2 separate regions of the Homo sapiens genome follow, and region 2 is linked to region 1. Evidence: promoter capture Hi-C in 16 types of primary human blood cells and fetal thymus (Javierre and others, 2016). All regions are on one chromosome and are shown on one strand. Each heading gives the region's core, a stretch centred on a gene start or on the middle of the fragment in contact. The rest is flanking DNA. Distances are from core to core; before and after follow the strand shown. Region 1 holds the start of MAB21L1 (mab-21 like 1). Region 2 overlaps NBEA (neurobeachin).

Region 1 (5,675 bases), core at 1,527-4,026:
ATAGACTTTTTTTCTTATATTATCAAAAATGCTACAAGAAGAGCAAGCTTTCAAAGGTAGATTTAAATTGTTTCTGTTGTAGAAAGGAATTGTCTTACAAGTAAGTTAGAGACTGAGAGTAGATTGTTATCTTATGGACCTATACAGAAAGAGCTTTTCTCCAATGTTTTATTTTTAAGGATTTCATTAGCATATTTCTCAAAATATTTAAGATATTCAAGTGGGTTTGATTTTCAAAATGCATCATTACATCTTGTGATAGGAAACAATTTAAAGTGAGACACAACAACTTTTATTTTACTTCATTTATTACCATCTAATTAAATAAAAACCAGCAACAAATTAAAATCTAAATCACAAAAGTAATTATCCAGTGTATTTCAAGTGCATTTTTCAAATATATAATTCAGATATTCAAGCGTTATTATATAAGCTGAATTCAAATTTCTTTGAATATATTTAAATAACATTTCAAGTATATTTATGGAATGTTAGAAATAGAACAAGCAATATTTGAAACAAAATGTAAACTTTTTAAAGTTCAGACACTTTCAAAGACAGATAAAAGTACCAGGAAGAAATCTACCTTTAAATGATATCTTTGTTAGTGGAAAATGTCTGGAAGTATCCAGAATGGCAATTTAAGTTCTGTTCACCAAATCACAAAACACCAACATCCACACTTTCAAAGACAATGTGAGATCACAATATTTGTTACAAATCAAAATATACATTACAGTTTCTTTCAGATGGCATATCCAAATCGTGTTTACTCACAGACAGATGCACCTAAATCACCAGGATTGCTATAATCCTTTGATAGTTAGGCAGAGTGTTCGTCTCGGTCTGGCGTTACAGCTGGGCTGTTTACGGAGTGTTACGGTGTACTTTTCAAGGGAGATAGGAAATCGTGTGGAAAGAAGTCTTCTAATACTAGTGGCTTTGGGTTTTTCTCCATCCGCTTCCCCTACTTTTTCTCCCCTTGTGGGGGTGGGTGAGATGATGTTTAAATATTGTATTATTATTCCTTTTTAAAGGAAGAGATTGTTTGCACTGCGGAGTGGAATATTAGGAATTGAACAGAAGTTTACACTTAATAAGGACTTTGAGAAGGGTAATAATTTCGGCTCTTGATTAAATCATCCTCTAAAGTTTTTCCAAACTTTTCGGGTTGGTCAGGATCTCTCTTGCCAGTCGCCACGTTTGTTTGGCAGCGTTTTCCAGAGCTGAGTGAGGTTTGCCTTGAAACAGATCTAAGTTCGGTAGAAAGTAGTGGGGACACCGCCGGCACTGCAGGCAGGAGATAAGTTGCAGCAAAATCCCGTTCAGCCGATCACCCAGGCAAGACTCGTCCCAGTCCGACTCTCGGGGATGCTTTTCACACTCGTAGGAAACCAGAGTCTTCATATGGTAATTGTTCAAGGGCTGGCCCGGCAGTTCAAGGTGACGATCCCTTAAGGTTTTGAGGATGGAGAGGCACTTCTTTCTGCAGCCCCCCATCTGCAGTCTGTTCTCTGCCTCCGCGAACTGCAGCACCCAGGCGTCGCTCTCCGCCGAGCTCTGCTTGCCGGCCAAGGAGTGGCACTCCTTGGACAAGAGATTGAAACCTTCCGCCTTGACCTCCGCCACCCGGTTGGGTCCCGGCCAGGGGATGTGGGGAAGTGGCCAGTGGGCAGCACTCCTCGGCCAGATCCCGGTGCATTTAAAGGCCGGCGTGATCTGCACCACGTACCTATCTCGGATTCTCAGTTTCACTTCGCTGGTGTCTGCCACCATCTTTACCACATCCCGGTAGCTACATTTGTCTACCGCTTGAGCCACCAGCGTCTGAAACCTGGACCGGATTTTGCGCGCCGAGAGGTAGCCGGAGGCGGTAATGAATTCCACCCAGAGGGACATGCTCCTCTTGCGCCCGTCGCTCAACTTCAGCACCGCGCAGCCGGGCAGTGAGCCATCGTCCACGAAGTTGAACACCCCCATTTGGTTGAGATAAAGCACCACTTCAAATTCGGTGGGGGAGATGACCTCGAGGCCCTCGTAGCGATTGTCCATCTCGTTGAGAGAGCTGATGAACCGCGGCTCCTGCACTTCCACTTCCTTCAGTACGTCGGAAACTACTTTGCAGACTTCCCGGATAGTTTTGGCAATGGCAGCTTTCCTGGCTTGGCATTTTTCGTTGTAGTATTTATTCAGATGGTAGACCAGCTTGGCCTGGGCCGCAATCATGTTGGGGCAGAGATCCGGATTGTACACCGGAGTCTCGCAGTAAGCTGTGGGATCCAATGCGGCTGCTAGAGCTGGAGCCAACTTCGGTGGAGAAACGGGCCGCAACACTCAGAAATGGATCAAAAATGCCTTTCGGAAGTGCTGCAGCGTTGGTTTCCCTGCTGCTGCTGCTGCTGCTGCTGCTGCTGCTGCTGCTGCTGCTGCTGCTGCTGCTGCTTTTCCCTTCCTTTTATCTTTGAGCCCAGCCGTTCTTAAAGTGAAAGACTGTCCTCCCCCCTCTGCTTGTCTCTCTTCCTCTTTTAAAGAATCCTTGTGTGAGAGAACCGCATGGAGAGATCACCTTCTCAGGAATAAAAAACAAAAGTTGCGCTGAGACCCAGCAAAGCTCTTCCAGTAGTCAAAATAAGCACCCCTTTCCGTATTTATTTGCGCTTTCCCGTAATCATTGTGTGTGCAGCACTGTTAATCAAATGGAGGAAAAGTGTGCTGAGTGTGTGTCCGGGGTGAGTGTGCGTGTGTATATGTCAGAAGAAGCTGCTGTTGGTTTGTCTAAGAGCCCAGATGCACTCGTGTGGAAATTATAAAGGCAGGGCCAGGCAGGCGGGCGGCCAATCGCCACTGGGCTCGTCACGACAGCCTCCTTCAGCTCCAACCCGGCTAATTAATCCCCACTCATGGATATAGGCACACAAACTAAAGGTAGGAGGCTGCTGCCGGCGGAAAACCACTCAGGCCACCTAGACAGTTTGGAAATCAAGAGGAATCTCTCAGCTTTGGTATTACTTGAAGCATATTGACGTTTTGAAAAGACTTGGCAAAGCGGCTCTCTTCTGTGCCGAAAACCTGCTTGTCTTTTACCGCTGAAATGCAAATACAGGTGTATTAATGGGCATCCATCAATTAGTGATCTTGACGGGGTTTTCTAAAACAAAATCACTAACTTGCATTTAGAGTAAGATAATTAACGTCTGTTAATCCTTGGGGTCTTCTTAAATGCAGGTTGAAAGTTTGTTCTTTCATGCAGACTACTGGCATATGGAAGTTGGCTTTAGATGGAGGAGTACCTGTGTAATTTTCTCATTCTGGATGTTCCTATATGTTAAAATGATTTTTTGAAACGTTATGGAGGTAGTATGCTCTTTTTTTACTTATGTTTTTTTCTTTTCTCCATTTGTTGAATCTGAAAATTATTGCTGAGTGTGTGAGATGTTCTACCCCTGTTTAAGTTAGGATATTTAAAAAATATTTCGTACATCCCTCTGCCCCAGCAGATGCAGTCTTTGCACTTTGGTGGACTTGCCCAGCATTACAAGCAGGACACAACGCTATATATGCACTTATAGAAACATTTGAAAAATAAATTGTCTGTGGGATGGACAGAGTACTTTAGCGTTATTTCATAGTGACCTGTATTTTAGTACATAAAATTCAGGTGAGATCATAGAGATCAAGCTTCCTCACAGATAACTATCCCGAAAAATTGAAGGTTTGGGGTATCTGGCTTGTTTACAGATGTATAATTAAGGATATATCTCCTGTCTTAAGTGTCCTTAAGTGGTGACCTGGCAGTAGACTTCTAATTTTATACTATTTCGTGTGATTTAATTAAGGGAAAATGGTTAACATTTGCAAAGAAAATTAACTTGCAGTTATCTGGGGGGTTTTTTGGATTTAAACATCATTTTGAAAACAAAAATGAAATAAATCATTTCATTTCTGAATTTTGGAACCTGGAAACAGGAGGAGGAATTTTTTTTTCTAGTTGGTGGTCCAGTTGTGTCCTCAAAGTACAGGAAACTAAAGAAATACTACTTAGTGGTTACGTTGTGGTTTTTAAAACTAGGTGGATTTTTTTAATTGTCTACCTTTAATTTAGATGCCACGTCTTTCCAATTAAGAATATTTCCCGTCAAATCCTATAACTCCCGGTAACATGTTTGTAGACACTTTCAGAGTCACTTTTAACAAGATATTCTTCAGGGCTCCCACTTGCTACTTAAGCTTTTGATTTTTGTTTGTGTGTTTTGTTTTGCACAGGCACAGCATCACAAAACCACCTATTATTTAATTTCTCCTTATCCAACAGTGATAGATTCCAATTTAGCTGAAAATAGTATACATTGGGGTGCGTGGCACCCAGCTACTCTATTTCCCAAGAACCTTCCATCCCCTTAAGAGCAGGGTCTGGGAACACCCAAAAAACCCCTCCCCACTTTGCCGTCATCGCGGGTGAATGCACCACTACCTTTTGGCAGTTGGAGGGGAGACCCATCAGAGCCGGAGAACCTGCAGCCACGACGGCGAGGATGTGCAGTGGTCTCTGGGGAAACGCCGCCTTCTGCCCTCACCCGGCGCGTGTGGCCCTGTGCCGTCCGCTCGCCGCCTCTCTCTCGCTGCTCCGCATTCCCGTGCCCTCTTACTTTCCTCTCTGGGCTCAAGATCGCTACGCTTTATTTCTGCGTGAGCTTATTTGAAAACCTTACTTGGTGTCCCGGCTTACTCTCCACGTCTGCTCCAGACCACGGTCTGCCCACGCACCCCTCAGCCTGCACCGCCCACGTCCGGCCCAGGTGTGGTCGCAGCCAAGCCCCAGCCGCGGGCCCCTGCGCCCTGCGCTCTCTCCCTTGGGTTCAGGCCAGAGATGCTTGCCCCAAGACCTCGCCCCTTGCCTTCTTGGGCCACCTGCAGAACACCCTTGGTTGTCAAGGACGTGAGACAGCCGAGGACGGGGAGGCCCCAGGGCTGTTCGGGGGACCTTAAGTGGGTCCAACGGGAAGGACGCGGGCCTGCGAGGGATGCCGGTCGGGCCTGGCTGGAGCCAGGCGCGCAGGTGGCGCATCTTCGGGGCTCACTGTGCAGCTTAATTGGGTTAAAGCGAAGCTAAACACCGAAGCACTTTGTGCAAACTAATTGGTGCAACCAGCGCCTTTTCACTAACGATTTGCACTTTGAGAAAGAAAAATGGATGGTGAGAAAAGGTATACTAGGAAACTCATTAGATCTAGAGTGTTCAGGAAAGTGAAGTCATTTAGTTTAAAGGACGCCAGGACTGTGTTTTCTAAGCTGCTTCCTTAAGCACCCCTCACACAAGGAGCTGAAGGTGATTTACATAACATAGGATTCACCGGTCCGCGATTATCACTGTGGGTGAACTGGGCGCCCTGGAATGAATAATACTCTAGTGCAAGTACTGCTTGTTGCTGCAACACAGTGATTTTCTATTACACTGAACACGTGAAATGAATTGCCTTCTGTAGCTGAATCCTTTCAGTGATCGTAGACGCCCCTCATTGTTGAAGCGAGAATTAAGCTATTCGGAGAAGCGTGTTTTCCATCCCCGAAATTTTTTTATGGAAATGACCTATAGAGAGGGATTGCAAATAACAGTACATTTTTGTGCAGTTCAGCCGATTTTAATCTAGGCTTGGGGGATATATTTATTTTATGGG
Region 2 (5,675 bases), core at 853-3,352, 260 kb before region 1:
ATTGTCTGTTCATGTCTTTTGCCTATTTTTTAATTGGATCACTGTTTAACTTTTGAACTCTGAGAGTTTTTGTTATATTCAAATACAAGTCCTTTTTTAGAAATTTAGTTTGCAAATATTTTATCTTAGACGTGCTCCCTGTTTCATCCTTTTAATGGGTTTTTTAGCAGAGAAAAATTTAAATTTTTTTTAATCTGGCTTGTCAGATTTACCTTTTTATAGTTAAGCTTTTGGTGTCATGTCTAAGAGCTCTTCACCTACCTCTACTTTCCCAAAATTTATATTGTATTTTCTATAAAGTTTTGTGGTTTAAAAGTTGTTTTACTTTTAAGTCTGTGATCTATTTTGAGCTGATGTCTGTGTAAGGTGTGAGGTTTAGGTTGAGGTACACATTTTTGCCTATGAATGTTCATTTGTTCCAGCACCATTTGTTGAAAAGGCTATCCTTGCCCATGAGGCATGTTTTTAAGACCTTTTAAGGCAAATTTAGAGAGGCCTCTCTTCTTGGATTGCTTTTGCCACACTTAGAAAGGGTAGACTTGCTAGAATTTCTCCTGAATGCTCAGTGTATTTAATGAGATCTCTCCTTTCTGGCTGGAGGGAATACAGACTATTCCCAGCACTATGCACTCTCAGTGATGTTTGTGTTGCAGCTCCTTCATAATTATTCTTTTCAAAAAATTATTCTATTCTAGCCCTTGGAGCTTTCAGGCTTCACATAAGTAGATTGCTATTCAGCCTAAGACTCAGGTTTTGGGAAATTTTTTTCTTCATAGCTTCCTCCTCTCAGGGACTCTGTTCTGCAAATTCTATTCACCTTGGCCGTTTTGAACTACAGTCTCAGTCGTGTCAACTCAAAAACATTGCAGGACTCAGTATTTGCCATAATATAGGAAATACCTCCATAAAGGAAACATGGATGATGGGGGAGCTCACCTCATTGGTTTCCCTGTCCTTAGGGTTCATAGTCCTGTACTCCCTGTATTGCCTGAAAATAGTTGTTCCCTGTATTTGTCTAATATTTTTAACTGTTAGCATGGAAGGTAATTTTAGACCATCTTACTTTTTCAAGGCTACAAATGAATTTTATATTCTTATCATGTTGTCAATGATTTCTTTTATAAATTTTAATTCTTTTAATTGTTTCCCTTTCAGTATGTTGACAGAATATCCTGAAATGTTAACTCACTTATTATTCCTAATTATTTTTCTATAGATTGTTTCAAAATGTATATGTATATACATAATTCTGTCATCCACGAATAATGGGGGAGTTTTTTCTCCCATTAAAATCCTTGCACCTTTTAATTTCTTTTTCTGAACTTACAGTGCCACCCAGTACCTCTAATGCAATTTATTATAGTCATGGTTATAGCAGGCATTCTTTTTAAATTCTTCATCTCAGATGAAAAACATTGAACATTTATCATTAACTATGATGCTTCTTACCTATTAATTATATATAATTTTCAATAAATGTTATACATCTCTTATATTTGTAATTAACAAAAACTTGCTATCATGACGTATGTTGAAGTTTATCTTATGCTTTTTAAATATACACTAAGATGATCATGTGGTTTTTCTCCTTCTGTTAACATGGTATACTATATTGATTTAATTTTTAAATGCTAAAAGAATTCTCAATTTCTGTAAGAAATCCAATTTCATTGTAATGTGAAATAGATTTATCTCTTGAAAGCTTCTATAAGATTATTTTTTTATTTTTTCCCCTGAAATATTTAGTAAACTTCACAAGCAAAGACACCTAATCCTGGATCTCTTCTTTTAGGAAAGTTTCTTAATTAAAATTTCAATTTAATTAGTTACAGATCTCCCAAAATTTTCTATTTTTTTCTGGTGTCAGCTTTGTTAGGTTTTTGCTGGCATAAAGCTTTTCATAATATTATTGTGTTATTCTTTTAACATTCATATAATCTGTAGTAATGTCCCTTCTTTTTAATCTTGATATTCTTTATTTAAGCTAGCCAGCTTGTCTGCCTTCCTGCCTTCCTGCCTTGCCTTCCTTGCCTTCCTTGCCTTCCTTCCTTTTCTTGATAAGCTCTGGCAGTGATTAATCAGTTTTATTCATATTGCCAAAAAAATGTCTAGAGAGAAATAACAAGAAACGGTTAAGTTGAAAGTTGTACATTGTTTGTTTCCTTAGTGCAGTAGTTTTCTAACATCAGCATGCATCAGAATAACATAGAGGGCTTGTTAACATACAGATTGCTGGATACCTAATTCAGTAGGACTCCAGTAGGGCATGAGAATTTAGGGCACCTCTAACAAGTTTTTAGGTGTGTTAGTCAAGCTTATTTAGAGAAACAGATTAAATAGGATGTTTACATTCATATGAATATACATGCATATACACATGATTTATTATAAAAATTTGGCTCACATGATTATGGAAACTGAAAATTCCCAGTATCTGCAGTTAGTATGCTAAAGACCCAGGAGAACCAATGTGTAGTTCTAATCAAAGTACCAAGGTCGGAGAACCAAGAGAGCCAGTGATACAAGTTCCTATCCAAAAGCTGGCTGGCTCAAGACTGAAGAAGAGCCGATGTTTCCGTCTGAGTCCAAAGGCCAAGAAGAGACCAGTACTCCTAGCTCAAACATTCAGGCAGAAGGAGTTTGCTCAACTTTTTTGTTCTATTCATATCTTCAACTGACTAGATGAAGCCTTCTTCCATGAAGGAGGGCAGTCTACCTATTCAAATGTTAATCTTATCAATAGATACCCTCACAGTCATACCCAGAGTGCTGTTTAATCAAATATCTGGACACCCAGTAAAATTGACCCATAAAATTAACCACGATGCTAGATCATGCTGATGCTGCTGGTCCAGAATACACACTTTGAGAAACAGTGTGTAATTGATAATCCTCCACATCGCAGGAGTTATCCTTGATTTATCGAGGTCCTATTCCCAGACAATGCATGGCCCTTCCTTACTCTAGTTTAACTTAATTTACCCCAAATTTTGCAGACATACATGTACATATGTATGCATGTGTGCATGTTCATCTTAAATTCACACCCTGCAAGAAAGTATACTTATTTTATTGGTCAACATCTGTTTTGATTTAGCCAAATGACTATCATTTTTTGTTGCTCATCATTCTTTTCTGAATGTCTGACCTCCACCTAGTATCATATTTCTTCTTCTGAAAGAACGCTTCTTAGTATTTGATTTAGTGCAGGTTTGCCTGTCATGAATTTTTAGTTCCTATTTCTCTAAACATCTTGGAAATCCACCTCGATGTTTGAAAGGATATTTTGAACCAATAGAATTCTAGGTTGGCAATTATTTTCTTATAGTGCTTTGAAAATATCATTTTATTGTCTTTTGGCTTTTTTCATTCTGTGTTTTATTTATTTATTTTATAGGTTAATTCCTAGTCATATTGTTTCTGTTCTCCACTCCAACCCACCTGATGTCTGTTTTAAAGGTGTTCTGTATTTTGGGAGTTGATAAGTTTTACTATGATGTTTTCAGGCGCTGTGGATTTTCTTTGTATTTATCCTGCTTAAGATTTGTAGAGTTTTTCAAATCTGAAGTTTTATCACTTTCATTCAATTTTGAAACTTCCTAGCCATTACCTCTTCAGGTATTGCTTCTGACCCATTTTATCCTTCTGTTAGAGCTTATCTTACATAAAAATTAGACTTTTTAAAAATACATTTCTTACCTATCTATATCCTTTCCCCCTATGCCTATTTCTCTCTCAGTGATTTTGAGTATTTTCTTTTAACCTATAGTCTACTTTACTAATTATCTCTTTAGCTGTGTCCAGTCTTCTCAGTTCTTAATTTCAAGTTTTATAAGTACTCAAATTTCCATTTGACTTTTGTGGTTTAATATTATCTTCCAGCTGGGCGTGATGGCTCACGACTGTAATCCCAGCATTTTGGGAGGCCGAGGTGGGCAGATCACAAGGTCAGGAGTTCGAGACCAGCCTGACCTTCATAGTGAAACCCCATCTCTGCTAAAAATACAAAAATTAGCTGGGCATGGTGGTGAGTGCCTGTAATCCCAGCTACTTGGGAGGCTGAGGCAGAAGAATTGTTTGAACCCAGGAGGCCAAGGTTGCAGTGAGCTGAGATTGTGCCATTGCACTCCAGCCTGGCGACAGAGTGAGACACTATTTCAAAAAAAAAAACAAAAAACTAAAAAAACTTCCAATTGTCTATCTTATCCAGTTGTTTATCTTGATCTTTAATTTCCTTGAATGTAAATATAGTTACCCTAAAGTCTTTGATTATTTATCAGAGCTACCTCTGTCATCTTGTGTTACTTTTGGTATTCAATAATATCTTCCTGTCTACTTATATTTCTTTTCTTGTTATTATTATGTGAAAAACCTATGTAGTATCTGAAAGATTATAAACATAATATGAAAGTACAAAGTGGTGTTTTCTTCCAGAAAAAAATGTATTTTTTTCTAGTAAGCATTAGCAATCCTAAAGGACCTTAATGAAGTCAAGGTTAGAGGGCCAGTCTTTTTTCGATTCACCACTTCTTTAAAGTGTAGTTCTATAGGATCTCAACCTATAGAATCATAAATCAGATAAACCTATAGAACCTTACATCATAAGGGTTTTTCTAAGCTTTTTTTCCTCTTTAGTAGGCTCTGAGCTCCAAAAATTTTGTTGAATTTCAATCATTCAGTTGCTTCTACCAAAACATGTCCATGGGAGAAGAGCGGTCCAGAAACCAAAATCATCTTAGAGTTTCTTCTTCAGGATCATGGTCAAATAATTGACTTCTGTCTTAACTCTCCATTTCCCTCAGAGAAGTGTTTTTGATTTTGTCCAGCTTTTTTAGTTGTTCTCAGCAGGAGAATTTGCCTATTACTAAAGGTAGAAATCCACATTATTTTTATATAGTTATTGTGTTTATGATCATATATTAGATGGAGTGTAAATGTTAAAATGGCTTGGTTTTTTTTAATCACTGATTTCAGCTGGATTATGTCAGATCCATTCCTTCTGATCCTTAATTATATAATAGAAAAATGTGTAACTTTTTGGTAATTTTTAAGTTGTATAAAGTTCATCCAATTAAACATTTTCAACTCCTTACATGACTTTCTTTATTTTAGTGAAGGGTTTTGATGGTAATTTTTTCCTTTCTTTAAACTTGTCTATATTTTTATACTTAAAGCAGTTCTGCTTTTTAAAAAAATCAAACTGACAATTTTTATATTTTAATTGGTATTTCTACATCATTTGCATTCAGTATAATCACTGACATGATTGTATTGATATCTACCAATTTGGTAATTGTTTTAGAATAAATTGTTACTTTCCATCTGTACTTTATTTTCTTTTTCTTCTTTTATGCCCTCTGTTGGGTTAATGGAGTATTTTTTTTATTATTTCATTTTCTCTCCAATATTGTCTTATTGTAGACAATATTTCAAACATTTTTAAAATGCTTAAAATAAAAGACAACTTTTTAAACATTTTAGGGGCTTCTCTACGACTTACAATATAAATCTTTAAATTATCAGACTCAGTTTTTAATATTATTACAAAGTTTCATGTGTTAATAAAGATGCTTGTAACAGTTTACTCCTAATTCCTCTTTCACATCCTTAGTGTTAATGTTGTCATACGTTTTACTTTTATATATCTTAACGAAGAAACAGTAGGCCGGGCATGG

Evidence for each region. The method cuts DNA at HindIII sites, captures the fragments that hold promoters and counts their contacts. A CHiCAGO score of 5 or more calls a contact.
Region 2: a contact is called between a fragment that was not itself captured here and the fragment with the promoter of MAB21L1 in region 1, in 1 of 17 cell types (megakaryocytes). The highest score is 6.1, in megakaryocytes.

What each region holds. Positions count from the first base shown.
Region 1 is chr13:35,473,913-35,479,587 of GRCh38, forward strand. It overlaps MAB21L1 (mab-21 like 1), which reads right to left and starts at 2,777. Exons shown (of 1, transcript NM_005584.5): 1 at 1-2,777. The coding sequence starts at 2,226. The coding sequence ends at 1,147. The region is part of intron 41 of NBEA (neurobeachin); the gene reads left to right. RefSeq lists enhancers at 1,353-2,349, 4,863-5,659. The HindIII fragment of the contact is 3,631 bases long and covers 46-3,676 here.
Region 2 is chr13:35,217,184-35,222,858 of GRCh38, forward strand. All of the region lies in intron 33 of NBEA (neurobeachin), which reads left to right. Among named protein-coding and RNA genes, the nearest start is that of MAB21L1, 260 kb to the right of the region's middle. The HindIII fragment of the contact is 420 bases long and covers 1,893-2,312 here.